2 separate regions of the Homo sapiens genome follow, and region 1 is linked to region 2. Evidence: promoter capture Hi-C in 16 types of primary human blood cells and fetal thymus (Javierre and others, 2016). All regions are on one chromosome and are shown on one strand. Each heading gives the region's core, a stretch centred on a gene start or on the middle of the fragment in contact. The rest is flanking DNA. Distances are from core to core; before and after follow the strand shown.

Region 1 (5,837 bases), core at 464-2,963, 940 kb before region 2:
GGAGTTGGGCCCAGGCATATGTGATTTCTTTAGAAGTTCACCATGTGATTCTGATGCCCAGTGAAGGTCGAGAACCATTGCCTTCAGCACTCTTACTTTGAGTAAACAGGATCATTCCCCGCTTTTGAGATTTAAAATTTTAGAATGCTGCAGCTAGATAATACTTTGTGGCGGTGTTTCTCAAACTTTCATGTGCATGTGAATCACCTGGGGATCCTGTTAAAAAGCAGATTCTGGTTTAGGTGACTGGAAGTGGGGCCTAAGCTGTGGCATTTCTCACTCATGTCCCTGTGACATGGGAGCTGCTGGAGTGAGGACCACCTTGATTGCAGTGGAGCTTTAGATCGAATACAGATGGAATGCTGCCTCTGTGCCAGACCCTGTGCTTAGTGCTGTACATTCAGTGCATTCTCACAGCCTCTGAAAGAGGTACTGTTTATAATTCCATTTTACAGGTACGTAAACTAAGGCCTAGATAAGTTAAGTATCTTGTTCAGGATAATAATGCTGGTAAGTAATAAGAGGCAGAATCTGGATCTAGATGGTCTGATTCCAGAAACTGTGAGCTGAACCACAATGTAATACCACTTCAAAGGCAGGATGGGGCTCAGGGGAGGACCTGCAGTTGGAAGAGGTGTTCAAGGACTTGTACTGAAGCTGTGTTTGTATAACAACAAGGTTTTGTTTTCATTTGAGATAGCCCCTGGAAGAGGCGAATAAAAACAGGTATTACAGAGGAGCTAAAGCACTCTAAGCCACTCCTTGGCCTGTCCCTGTAGGCCATGCCTTCATGTTGCTGGGCAGGAACAGGAGTTCATTGCAAGGTGTATATCGCAATTCAGTGGCAATATATTTCAGGTGTCACTGTATATCTCATAGATAGCCAGGTGGCTTCTGACCTTGTGATGACTTTGTTGTCAGAACTGAGGCCCCTTGGATTGTCATGACCTGGCCCTTGCCTGCTTTTCCCCCTCCTCTTCCACAGCTGCCTCCCTGACTTACCCAATGGCAAGCTCTAGACACATTAACTGCTTTCAGTTCCCTGACGGTATCACAATTTTATACTTCATGAATGTTGTCTTCTCTATTGGATGTCTTTGTTATCCTTTTCTTGCCAGGTTAAATGCTACCTTGTTCAACATCCCGGACAATGTAGTTCTTTCAAAAAGAATTTTCTAACCCTCCCAGCCAGGATTAAGTAATTCCCCTCCTCCTTTGGTCTGTCATAGTCCCCTGTTTCTTTTAATTAGAGCACTTAAGTAATTTACTTTTCTATTTAGTCAGACGGTGAACCTCTCTAGGGCTGTGCTTCATTTATCTTTGCATCCCAGGGCTTAGTATAGTATTCAGTAGGTGGTGAGAAGGCTGACAAGCATGTGTATTGAATGAATGAGTGACCCTTTTATTCCCAGTCCAGTGTTCTTTCCAACTGATGATTTGACTAAACTAGTAGTTTTCAATCCTGACTGTAGGGTTTTTAAAATAATCTGGATCATACCCAAGTCAGCTAAATCACAATCTCTTGGGGGTGAGGCCTAGGCATCTGTGTTTTTAGCAAAGTTCCCCAAGTGATTCTAAGATGTAGCCAGGTTGAGAACCAAGGGATTAACCTTTCAGAGTTACTCTTGCTGTGGTTGGAGCATAATAGTTGAAAGTAACATAGAGGAAAATTGTTGTCTGTCTTCAAAACTGAAAAGGAGAAATAGAAGGAAATATATGGGTAAACTGATCACTTACCTAGGCCTTTTGAAAGTAAATATATAAAACAACAGCATTTTAAGGCTGGGATAAGGAAATGTCATAAAACCCAATAATCAATTACGAAGTATGACACTTCTAAAAAGTTGGGAATCATTTTTCTAAAATTATATTAGTATATCATCCCAATCTGTGCTTTTTTGGCTATTTTTATCCATATATCATTTGCCTTGAGTGCTAGTGAATGATCTTTAAAGGCTTTCAACAAATGACTCACCATTCTCTTACTTTATAATATAGTATGCTAATTGGCAGTCATCTTAGGAGTGTTAAAATATGGCAACAATAACATGAAGTTAATTGTAAAGAAAGGGAGTTGGCTCTTTGTGGCTCTAGATCATTCCAGGTATGAGCAGACTTGTAAATACATCTGTTTATTCATTCTCCATGCAAACATTTGGTACTTATCTTCTCTCGGACAAAGTGCTACATATTGGAGGAAAAAGGGTAATATAAGACACCCTCCCAGAAGTTCTCTGTCTTAAATATGAATAATTAACAGTGCACCATGATATGCACAATGGAGGTCCACTCCAATGAGCACAGGAGGGAAGACGTGTCAGGGAAGGTTCACATGAAGCTCACCTACACGCACATAATATACAGCAGTGGTGTCAGGGCACGGATGACATTTCAGATGGTACTGAAAGGACAGCTCCAGGCACACAGCCCAGGTTGGTGGGATCTTGGCTCATTGCAGCCTTGACCTCCCTAGGCTCAGGTGATCCTCCCACCTCAGCCTCCTGAGGAGCTGGGGCTACAGGTGCCGCACCACGCCTAGCTAATTTGTGATTTTTGGTAGAGAAAGAGTTTCAACATGTTGCCCCGGCTGGTCTCAAACTCCTGGGCTCAAGCAATCTGCCTGCCTCAGCCTCCCAAAGTGCTGGGATTATAGGCATGAGCCATCACGCTCAGCCTGATGTGTTTGTGTTTGATTAAATCCATGGCACAAGATTTAATGTGGCATTACAAATGCTGTAATCTCAGCATTTTGGGAGGCTAGGATGGGAGGCTCAGCATTTTGAGAGGCTGAGATGGGAGGCTCAGCACTTGAGTCCAGGAGTTTGAGATCAGCCTGGACAACATAGCAAAACTCTGTTTCCACCTTAAACAAAAAACAACCATAGCACATCCTAATAGAGTTTTATTGGAGACTCACTCTCAAAAAGAGCCCTAAAAGAATTAAATAATGGTATTTAACTGACAGACACATGAAAAAATCTGGTTTCATATCTCAAAGTAACACTAACAGTTTCTTATGCCAGCAGAGGAAGATCATGTTTTAGAGAGATGGAGGTTTGACCATCTTCAGATAGTGACCTGCCCTTGCAGTACTTCAGAGCTCATCAAAGAGAGGAAGAGAAAAATGGAGTCACAGACTGCCAATTACTGCTTTTGCCTGGAAACAATGCATTTCACTTCCTTTTCTCATTTCATTGGCCAGAAATAATTACATAGCTATGTATAAAATAAGGGGGATGGGGGAATTATAATCTTTGTGTGTCCTGAAGTGGAGAACACTTGAATACGGGGGAATGTTACTAATGTCTACCATAGTCAGTCTCTTCAGCTTCACCCATGTGTGTTGGAAATAGAAGGGTGTGCTCTTCAGACATGAAGAAGAAAAAAATGACTTCATTACTATTGGTTATTATTCTTTTTATATTCTAATATATGTAGGATTGTTGCCAATAAGATTTTTATTTAAGATTGGTAGCAAGACCGGTCTTCATCAATATTAAAACAATTATTTTAAAGCTTTGAAATTAAGTTAAAGGCTATTACTTAAAGCAGCATGAATACGAATTCCAAGTAACAATCAGTATGATGATTGCCTTACTAAAATAACTTCAATTGAATCAATGTGCCCATGTGGAACACCTAGGGATTACAGGAGCAACTTCCATATAGAAGTTACCTCAGTGAGCTGGTTTCAAGCATGAGCCAGCAATGCAAATGCAGGCATATCACTTAAAAAAAAAAAAGAGATGAGGTCTGTCTCTCTCGCCTAGGCTGTAGCACAGTGGCAAAATCACGGCTCACTGCAGCCTAGAACTTGTGGGCTTAAGGGTTCCTCCTGCCTCAGCCTCCCAAGTAGCTGGGACCACAGGTGTGTGCCACCACACCTGGCTAATTAATTTTTTTTTTTTTTTTTTTTTTACAAACAGGGTCTCACCATCTTGCTCAGGCTGGTCTTGAACTCTTGGCCTCAGGTGATCCTCCCACCTTGGCCTCCCAAAGTGCTGGGATTACAGGCATGAGCCACTGTGCCAATGTGCCTGGCCCATTCGAAATACAAGATATATGCATTGTTTTGGTTTTTTAAAATTGCTTTCAAAATCTCTCACACACTACCACTTCTTTCCCCACTGTAGTCAGGAAGGAGGCAAGATTTGGGGAAGAGAAAGGATGGAATCCACTCAGGCTAGTTTTGGTGGAAGTAAAACAGTTTTCTAAGGAAAAAAGGGAACTACACTGTTTCTTTCTTTCCTCCTCCTTGGCTAACGTGTCAAGTGGTTAGGGGACCGTTATTCCCCTCCTTAGCTGGCCCTCTGGAGACTAGCGCTGTCCAATAGACCTTCCTATCCCTGCAATAATGAATATGGTAGCCACTAGGCACAGACGGCTATTGAGTACTGGAAGTGTGGCTACTGCAACTGAGGAACTAAACTCTAATTTTATTGAATTTACTAACTTTAAGTAGCCATGTGAATTCAGGTGATAGGAGAGAGGGAGGTTGTTCTTATTCCTGTTTTCGGTGTAGATTTTTCTGTACATCACAATGATTTTATCTTCCACACAAGATGTTGAAGATGAGCTGAGTCAGTGGGGGATCGGGTGGGAGTGAAGCGTGGACCGAGGCAGAGCCTGCTGCAATGCCTCCCTTCCTAGCCAGTGCAGACCAGGCTCCCTTCATGATCACTGGCGGACAGGACCAAGTGATGCCCAAAGACGGCACAGACACTAAAATGGGGACGATTACATGAATCTCAGACCTGATTTTGTTTTAAAGCCTATGACTTAGGATATGAGAAAAGAAGAAAGAGGCAAATAAACCTAGTGTGGTAACCTTTTAACATAGCATTAGCATCCATTTTTTCATAATATATTTGGATATAAAATCTTTATTGTGCTCAAAATTCTTATTAAAAATGCAGTGAACTGTAGTTTGTACATTTGCAGCCTCTCATTCCTCAAATTGTTCTTTTGTAAGAAATAATTTCTTTGATGGTCATTGTTTAATGAAAGACATGGGCAGTTATAAAAGAAAACTAATGTCATCAAACATTCATCTGGTGACTCCTATGTGCTGGTGCTATGCTAACAATGAATGGCACTTTGCAACACTAATTTTTAGCAAAATAACGACTTCTTAGCTGTAAAGTCCCCATGGGTGTGTGTCCTAGAGGCATATATTCTTTTCTATCTTTGTCTACGGTTCATTTTGGAAAACACCTACTTTTATTACACGATTGTAAAAATTAGTGCTCATATTAAACAATTTAATGAACCGAAGTGCCTCAGTCCTTTCGAAGCCTGACTGGCCTCCTCTAGATCTTTGGGCAGAGGTCAATGTAGAGTGATTTGCTGAAATGCTTGGATTTTATTCTTGAGATTTAACATGAAGGCAAGTGAGTGAAGTGAGGTAGGAAAGCACGTATGATTTCAAGATAATCTGATTTTTTAAAAGATAGAACATTTCACTTTCTGAATTAAAATTATCATCTTAAATAACCTTATCTCAAAGGAAGTCCTATTCCAAACATAATATCTAACAACATCAAATTTTTTTCTACCAGTACATACGTATAAACAGGAAAACTATTTTTTAGCGGAAAGTTAATTGTTGATACCACCATATTTGTACTCAAATGCAAGACCATTTCTAGTTCCACCCTCCCCACCGTACATTCCAGAGCCCACCTTTATTTTACCCTGACATTGTACCAGCATAAAATTCCAATATGCTAATTACTTCTCCAGATCATGCCATAGTTCTGATGCCATAAGACAAATATTAAAGGTTTACTTTTTATGTTCAGAATAATTGGGTAATTGTCGTCATCCTGTGACAGGTT
Region 2 (6,288 bases), core at 3,406-5,905:
ATACAACAGCCAGAACTGTCCACTGTGTATTCATCCTTGTAACAGATCACTGGAGGGTAAATTAGCATATTTAGTTTGAAATCTTGTAAAATAGAAACGGGATTGTTTGAGTAGTTGCAGTTTACATAGTAACCTCATACTTCATGGAGATCTGACTCAAAATAACACAAGGCTCAAAATAATAGGAAAAGGAATGCTCTGTAAATGATCCACATTGCCTAGGTACCTCCACTGACAACATGTATTTGATAGTGTCTAAAATCCTCTTTTCCTGTATAAACACAGTATCACTGTAATCCTAGACAGCACATTTGCTTTCTCTTAGAGCCTAACTCCCTTCAAATGATAGGTCTAAAATAAAATATGCAGAAGTCATTAAATTGTAGCATTTTCATTGTTGGGAGGGACCTCCAGAGGTCACCTAGTTCATCCCGATCTCCAGCCAGGACTCTTCCTAATACTGAATATAGCTGTACAGTGATCTGCATTAAGAAAGCTTTTAAAGATCCCTGGGGTTGGGCAAAAAATAGCTAATATTGGCCTGATTCATAGAATAGCATTATACGAATGTCATAATAGCCACCTTCATCAAGGAAGACATCCATCAGGGCTAAGTGCTAGTACTAGCTTCAGAAGGAAAAGCTTTATTTTCTCAGAGAAAAGGGTGGTAGATTAAGGAAATGACCCAGCATGTTGGTATTTTGTTGTTGTTGTTGTTTAGGTGTACATTTAAATGCTTATCAAAAAGGAAACATTGTCATGTCAAAGACCACTGCAGGGGAAGCCCAGAGGTGGCTGTAAGCAAGCAGATCACAAGTCCTTTAACAAGTTCTTTCAAATAGCAGTAGAGCTCAGAGGGGGGCTGTTGTTTCAAACAAGATTCAATTAGCATCAAGTTATTAAAGGGCAGCCGGGGAAACAAGAATAATATTGACAGACCTGCTTTTTAAGCAGTATCTTTTCCCTCTAATCAGCTGAGTTTGTTGGAGCTGATCATTTTATTTCTTCAACTCCATTCAACTATAGGTGCAAAGAATGAGAACTTCAGTGTAACTCCAATTTTCTAAGAGAACTAATCATATTGCTGCTTTATAAAAAAGGTAATCTTTCACAGTTGCTTAGATTTATGAATAATTAGATTTAAAGCATTATACTGGAATCTAGAAATCTAGCTAAAAGAGCTGAGGTTCTTATCTGAATTATTTGGGCCGTTAGCCCTTCTGTTGAACTATAGAAAGAACTTAAAGATATAGTTGTAAAATAAGGACGTACTCCCCAAAACTGTCCCAAGTATCCACTTGATTCTGTATCTTTATATTGCATCTTTTTCTCATATTTCTGCAAGTTTACATAAACTCTGGTCAACTATGAATGCCTCCCGGGATGAGAAATGGGAGTTTGGGTGAAATAGATTAGAGAATAGGTTTTGGGGTTTTTTTTAACCACATACTCTCTTGTCAACTTTCAAGTTTTGTGCTTGTACCTCTTCCAAAGTATTCATTTGAAAATATTTCATTTTTGAAATCAGAAAGGCACTGTCTGTGCTCTCTCTCCGCCAGATACTCAGTCTGGGTTACAGGAAGTAGAAATTTGTGACTACTAGCCTTTCCCAGCCTCCTTTGTAACTCTTGACTTTGGAAATGGGAATTCAGCCACTGAGAACTTTTTGATGTGCAGCTGCCTTTCTCAGGGAACACTAACCAAGAAACAAAGTCTTCAGGTCACCTTTCCTCTTCCTTTTGTGAGGACAGGAGACAAAAGAACAAGATCTCCCTGAAGTGTCTCCTTGGCTTTACAACATTCCACAGTAGGCACCTAACACTTGAGTTAAATGTGCAGACTACACACCTACCATAAAATTAGGGCACTCAAGGTAAGGAAAGTATTTCCATAGTTACTTGGATATTTGGCAGAGTAGTTTTCTCTCTTAAACTACTAATTGCCCATAACTTGCTGGGTGTGTACACAACCTGTAGGAAGTATTATTTTTAAAAGTTATCGGCTGGGCGTGGTGGCTCACGTTTGTAATTCTAGCACTTTGTGAGGCCGAGGTGGGCGGATCACCTGAGGTCAGGAGTTCGAGTCCAACCTGGCCAACATGGTGAAACCCCGTCTCTACTAAAAAAAATACAAAAAATTAGCTGGGCATGGTGGCTCATGCCTGTAATCCCAGCTACTGGGGATGGTGAGGCAGGAGAATCACTTGAACCTGGGAGGCAGAGGTTGTGGTGAGCCAGAATTGTGCCACTGCACTCCAGCCTGGGCAACAGAGCAAGACTCCGTGTCAAAAAAAAAAAAAAGTTATCAACATAAACAAATTCTCATAGCAGAATCAAGAAAATTCAAATACAGGAAACTGAATCAACTTTAAAGAAAGAGAATCATTATTAAAGAGTGTAAGAAAAGCAGAGAGCAGCAGATTCTATAATTTTTATTACAAAAAAAACCCTTTACATGCTATGACATTAAATGTCACTTATAAGGTCATTGCAAGCAAATCTTTTTAAAAAATATACATACTGTATATATTTACATTCAAGTTTGAATAATATTTGTCAAGATATAGTTCAGATTCTACTCTTTACCCATTCTGTGGATTTGTTCATCTAGTAACTAAACAGCGATTGTATCATCACTCAGGCACATAGAGAGGTAGAAACCGCTTTTTTAAAGAAAAAAAAACTGGAGTGCAAATGTGAAGATCACTGAAGCAGCTTAGCTACATCAAGGAGACCCTAACTAGCTTTGGTCATCTCAAAAAGCTGAATATATGTAGCCTTGTCCTTTAAATTAAAACCAGAAAAACTTTGGGCAGGTGCTCTTCTGAGCACATCAGAGTGCTGACAGAACTCAGCAACTAATGGTCTGCCACTCTGCAACGCGAATTGCACATGACTAAGTGAGGCAAAGATAGCAGCGGAGCTGGGCTGGCAGCTGGGCACCTTTTCCCTGATAAGACACAAATCATAACCAAACAAGTGGCTTACAAGACAGTCAATTAATATCTGGACATATAGTCTGGAACTCGGAAGCCAACTAAAGTACTTCATTTCCCAAGTGAAATCCCTATTCATTTTTGTTCTCCCACCTCCATCCCAAACTGAGCTCCTAAGTCTAGATAGGGATGGGGGTCGCCTGGGACTTCTGCAGGCCACAGTTTTTCGGCCCCAAGTACCGGCCTCACGAAGGCTCTTGGGACTGAGAAGGGCTGCCGGGGTTCTTGATAAACTTAGTGGGGGTTGTTCCAGAGAGGGGAAGTTGGAGGGGAGCCACAGGAATGGCCGTGGCCAGAAGCCCTTCTCGTTCCCTTTTCTTCTGTTTCATCCTGCGGTTCTGGAACCAGATTTTGACTTGCGTGTCATTCAGGTGCAAGCAGTTGGCTATCTCGATGCGCCGGGCTCGAGTTAAGTACTTATTGAAATGAAACTCTTTTTCCAGTTCTGTCAGTTGCTTGGTGCTGAAATTCGTGCGGATCGCGCTGGAGGGGCTAGCGGCCCCATACTCGGCGAGTTTGCCTGCAACGTAAAGACAGGGCGTCAGCCAGGCCTGAGGCCGGGGACAGAATGTGGGTGAGCAGTGGAGCTAGTTAGAATCAAAGTCCCAGCGCAGCCCTCCTGGGTCCCTAGGAACAGAATTTGTACCAGGAGAAGTTCCACGGAGAGCTCCTTCCTGAAATTTTCTCAATGCCTGGCACATTTTCCGAATCTGTACTCGAGGCAGACTCCATGGAATTCGCCCGGGAACGCGTCTCCTCCACAAAACCCAAACCGCTGTCTGGAAAGGCAGCGACACCACGCTCCCAGCGCATTTCCGCGGGGGAGGCTCCGTCCCCAACCCCAGGTGGCCCCATCCAAGGCCCGCGGACTTACCTTTCTTAGAGGCATTCCTCTTCACTTTCATCCACTCGAACGTGCTGAAGGCGGCAGGGAGGCCGGAGGCGGGAGAGACGGACTTGGGGTAGGTGCCTGGGGCCGGGGATGCGGTCTGGAAAGCACCAGGGTGGCCGTCGGCTGACGCTTTGAGACAAGCCGGAAAAGGGCCGGGTTCGCCGAAGGCCGCGTAATCCACCTGGCCGCTGAGGAGGAAAGAGCCGCCGCCCGAGAAGACGGCCGAGGTGGCGTAGTGGACGTGAGACCCGCCGTCGTCGGCCGCCCGCCCCAGCACGCCCGGGAAGTCGTACGCCGGCCCGGACCCCAGGAAGCCGTAGTCCGCGCCCCCAGCTGCCGCGGCAGGTGCGGCACCAGGTTCGTAGGCCCCCTCCAGGGTGCACTGCGCGTACTGGGGCGCGGCCGGAGGCGGTACGGACGGCCGCGCGGGGGCGGCCGGGGGCGAAGGCGAGGGTCGGGCGGCGGCCAGGGGCAGACAGCTGACGAAGGCGCCGTCGCCGTTGCCCAGAGGGAAGGCGGGCTGCAGAGCCACGGGCCGGGCGTCGGAGCGGCAGAACTTGGGTGCCAAGCTGAGCACGTCGCCGCCGACCCCGCCGCTGCTGCTGCATGACACGTACTCCAGGTAGGAGCTCATGGTTCGGGCCCCACCTTTCTGAGGGCGCAGGCCGGGGCCGGAGTACGGAGCCGGGCAGAGGCTGAGCAGGACTGCCGCCGTCTGCGCCGCTCCGCCAGCCCTCTCTACCCGAGCTGCCCTCTCCAACCCATGGCGAGTGAGCCGGAGGTAAATAGTGGCCTAATATACCGGCGGGGGCGGCCACGTGGCGCTGGCCGGCCAATGGGCGGCCTCTCCGCTCGGCCCGGTCGGCGCGCCGCTCCTCGCGCCTGCCCCGCAGCCAAGTTAGCCAAAGCAGCCCAGGGCCGCCGCCCAGCGCCCCCGAGCCCCGAGGAGAGCCGTCGCGACCGGGGGCTGCCTGGGCAAGGGCGGGGCGAGAGGGCAGAACGCCTGCTCTCGGACAGGTATTGGGCGAGGTGGGGGGAGAAAGGCAGGACTGGACGCTTGGGTGAGGGCCCGTGGATGCAGCGGGGCGAGCCGCTTCTGCTCTGGATCGTGGGGGGGGCTAGTCCCTCGAGGGCGGAGTGTGGGCGTCGCGGCATGGAAAAGGTTAAATGGGAGCGTGACGCGCGGCCGGTGGAGACTGCTCTTCGCCCACCTCCAGGACAGATAAAGTTATTCCTCTTCCCCTCTTCTGAGTCCTCTGCGCTTTCGGTTTGCTTGGCGCTGATGTTATCCCTCTTCTAAACCTAGAGCAGATGTTTGGTTTTTTCCTTTCTTCCCCCTTTCCTAGGACTCATGGAACTACATCTTATGCTGTGAGTGCTGTGTGCCTAGGGCGGGACAAAATTTTCACTTTTTGACTAGGCTTCCTTTTAACGTGACTTTGCAGCTTTCTTCTATCCCTCGCAATTTGTGGCGGCGTGATGAGGGCCAGTGTTGTAGTGCCAGATTTTGATAAAGTTTCTGCCTTGTGGGGTGGTTTAGCAGATTTTCCCCTCCGGCTGGGTTGTTGGAATAAAGAATCCAGAGTGGTGGTGGAACACTCCTTATGCTCCTTTCTGGGAGACTGGCACAGGCACCGGTGCGGCGCTTGCTTTCACTGAGGAGCTTGTCTGGAGGGCGCAAGGGCTTACCGGGGACGGGTGAGATCTCAGAGGTTTAGATGGACTTGTACCTCGAAGCAATTAGAGCTTCTGCTCCATCAGATAAGTGCTGCATCGTCTCTTGTGAGTGAAATCTGAGGGCTCACAATGTTAATGGGCTCACGTCTTTCCCTTGATAATATGGTTTTGTTTACTGAGTGTAGAGAGACGGGAAATAAAAGTGCAATTGCCACAGGAAATGAAGAGTAGAAAGGTTACAAAGACCAGCTTTACATTGACAAACTTTCCAACTTCCTTTAGTATTTCTTTTAATGTTCCCTTTTGAGGGGACTGTAGGAAAATTACAAATTAGATAAATAGAGGTTATTTACACACAGTAGTTATGAAAGAGGGTGGTTTCCTAAAACCCTGTGTGAATAAAGACTCTAAAGAGTCTACTCAGAGCTTATATCAAGTGCCCTTGAAAAGTTAATCTATTACAGCCTCTAAGTTATGGTAACCGAGGTTTTATCATTGTTTTACTGATTGACTTGTCATAAAAGAGCGATTGAGCTGTTGTTGCCTAAATTTCCACTCTGAGGAAGTCTTTAGAATAGGCGCCATCACAGCCCAGGGAGCCAGTTCCTTCCAGGGTTGTGGACTTGTGAATAAACAAAGCCCTACCAAAATGTGGACTACTGATGGACCCGAAGTTGCTGCAGGATGGGGGAGGGATGTCCCCAGGTTGAGGGGAGCCAGTAGA

Evidence for each region. The method cuts DNA at HindIII sites, captures the fragments that hold promoters and counts their contacts. A CHiCAGO score of 5 or more calls a contact.
Region 1: a contact is called between a fragment that was not itself captured here and the fragment with the promoter of HOXD1 in region 2, in 1 of 17 cell types (total CD4 T cells). The highest score is 5.6, in total CD4 T cells.

The regions. Positions count from the first base shown.
Region 1 is chr2:177,124,614-177,130,450 of GRCh38, reverse strand. The region is part of intron 1 of LOC105373760 (a long non-coding RNA gene); the gene reads left to right. Among named protein-coding and RNA genes, the nearest start is that of MIR4444-1, 85 kb to the left of the region's middle. The HindIII fragment of the contact is 3,611 bases long and covers 1-3,518 here.
Region 2 is chr2:176,187,035-176,193,322 of GRCh38, reverse strand. It overlaps HOXD1 (homeobox D1), which reads right to left and starts at 4,655. Exons shown (of 2, transcript NM_024501.3): 1 at 3,870-4,655; 2 at 2,416-3,515. The coding sequence starts at 4,521. The coding sequence ends at 3,181. HAGLR (HOXD antisense growth-associated long non-coding RNA) reads left to right here and starts at 4,365. Exons shown (of 3, transcript NR_033979.2): 1 at 4,365-4,509. It overlaps MIR7704 (microRNA 7704), which reads right to left and starts at 4,480; the gene lies at 4,422-4,480. RefSeq lists an enhancer at 513-1,053. The HindIII fragment of the contact is 11,390 bases long and covers 645-6,288 here.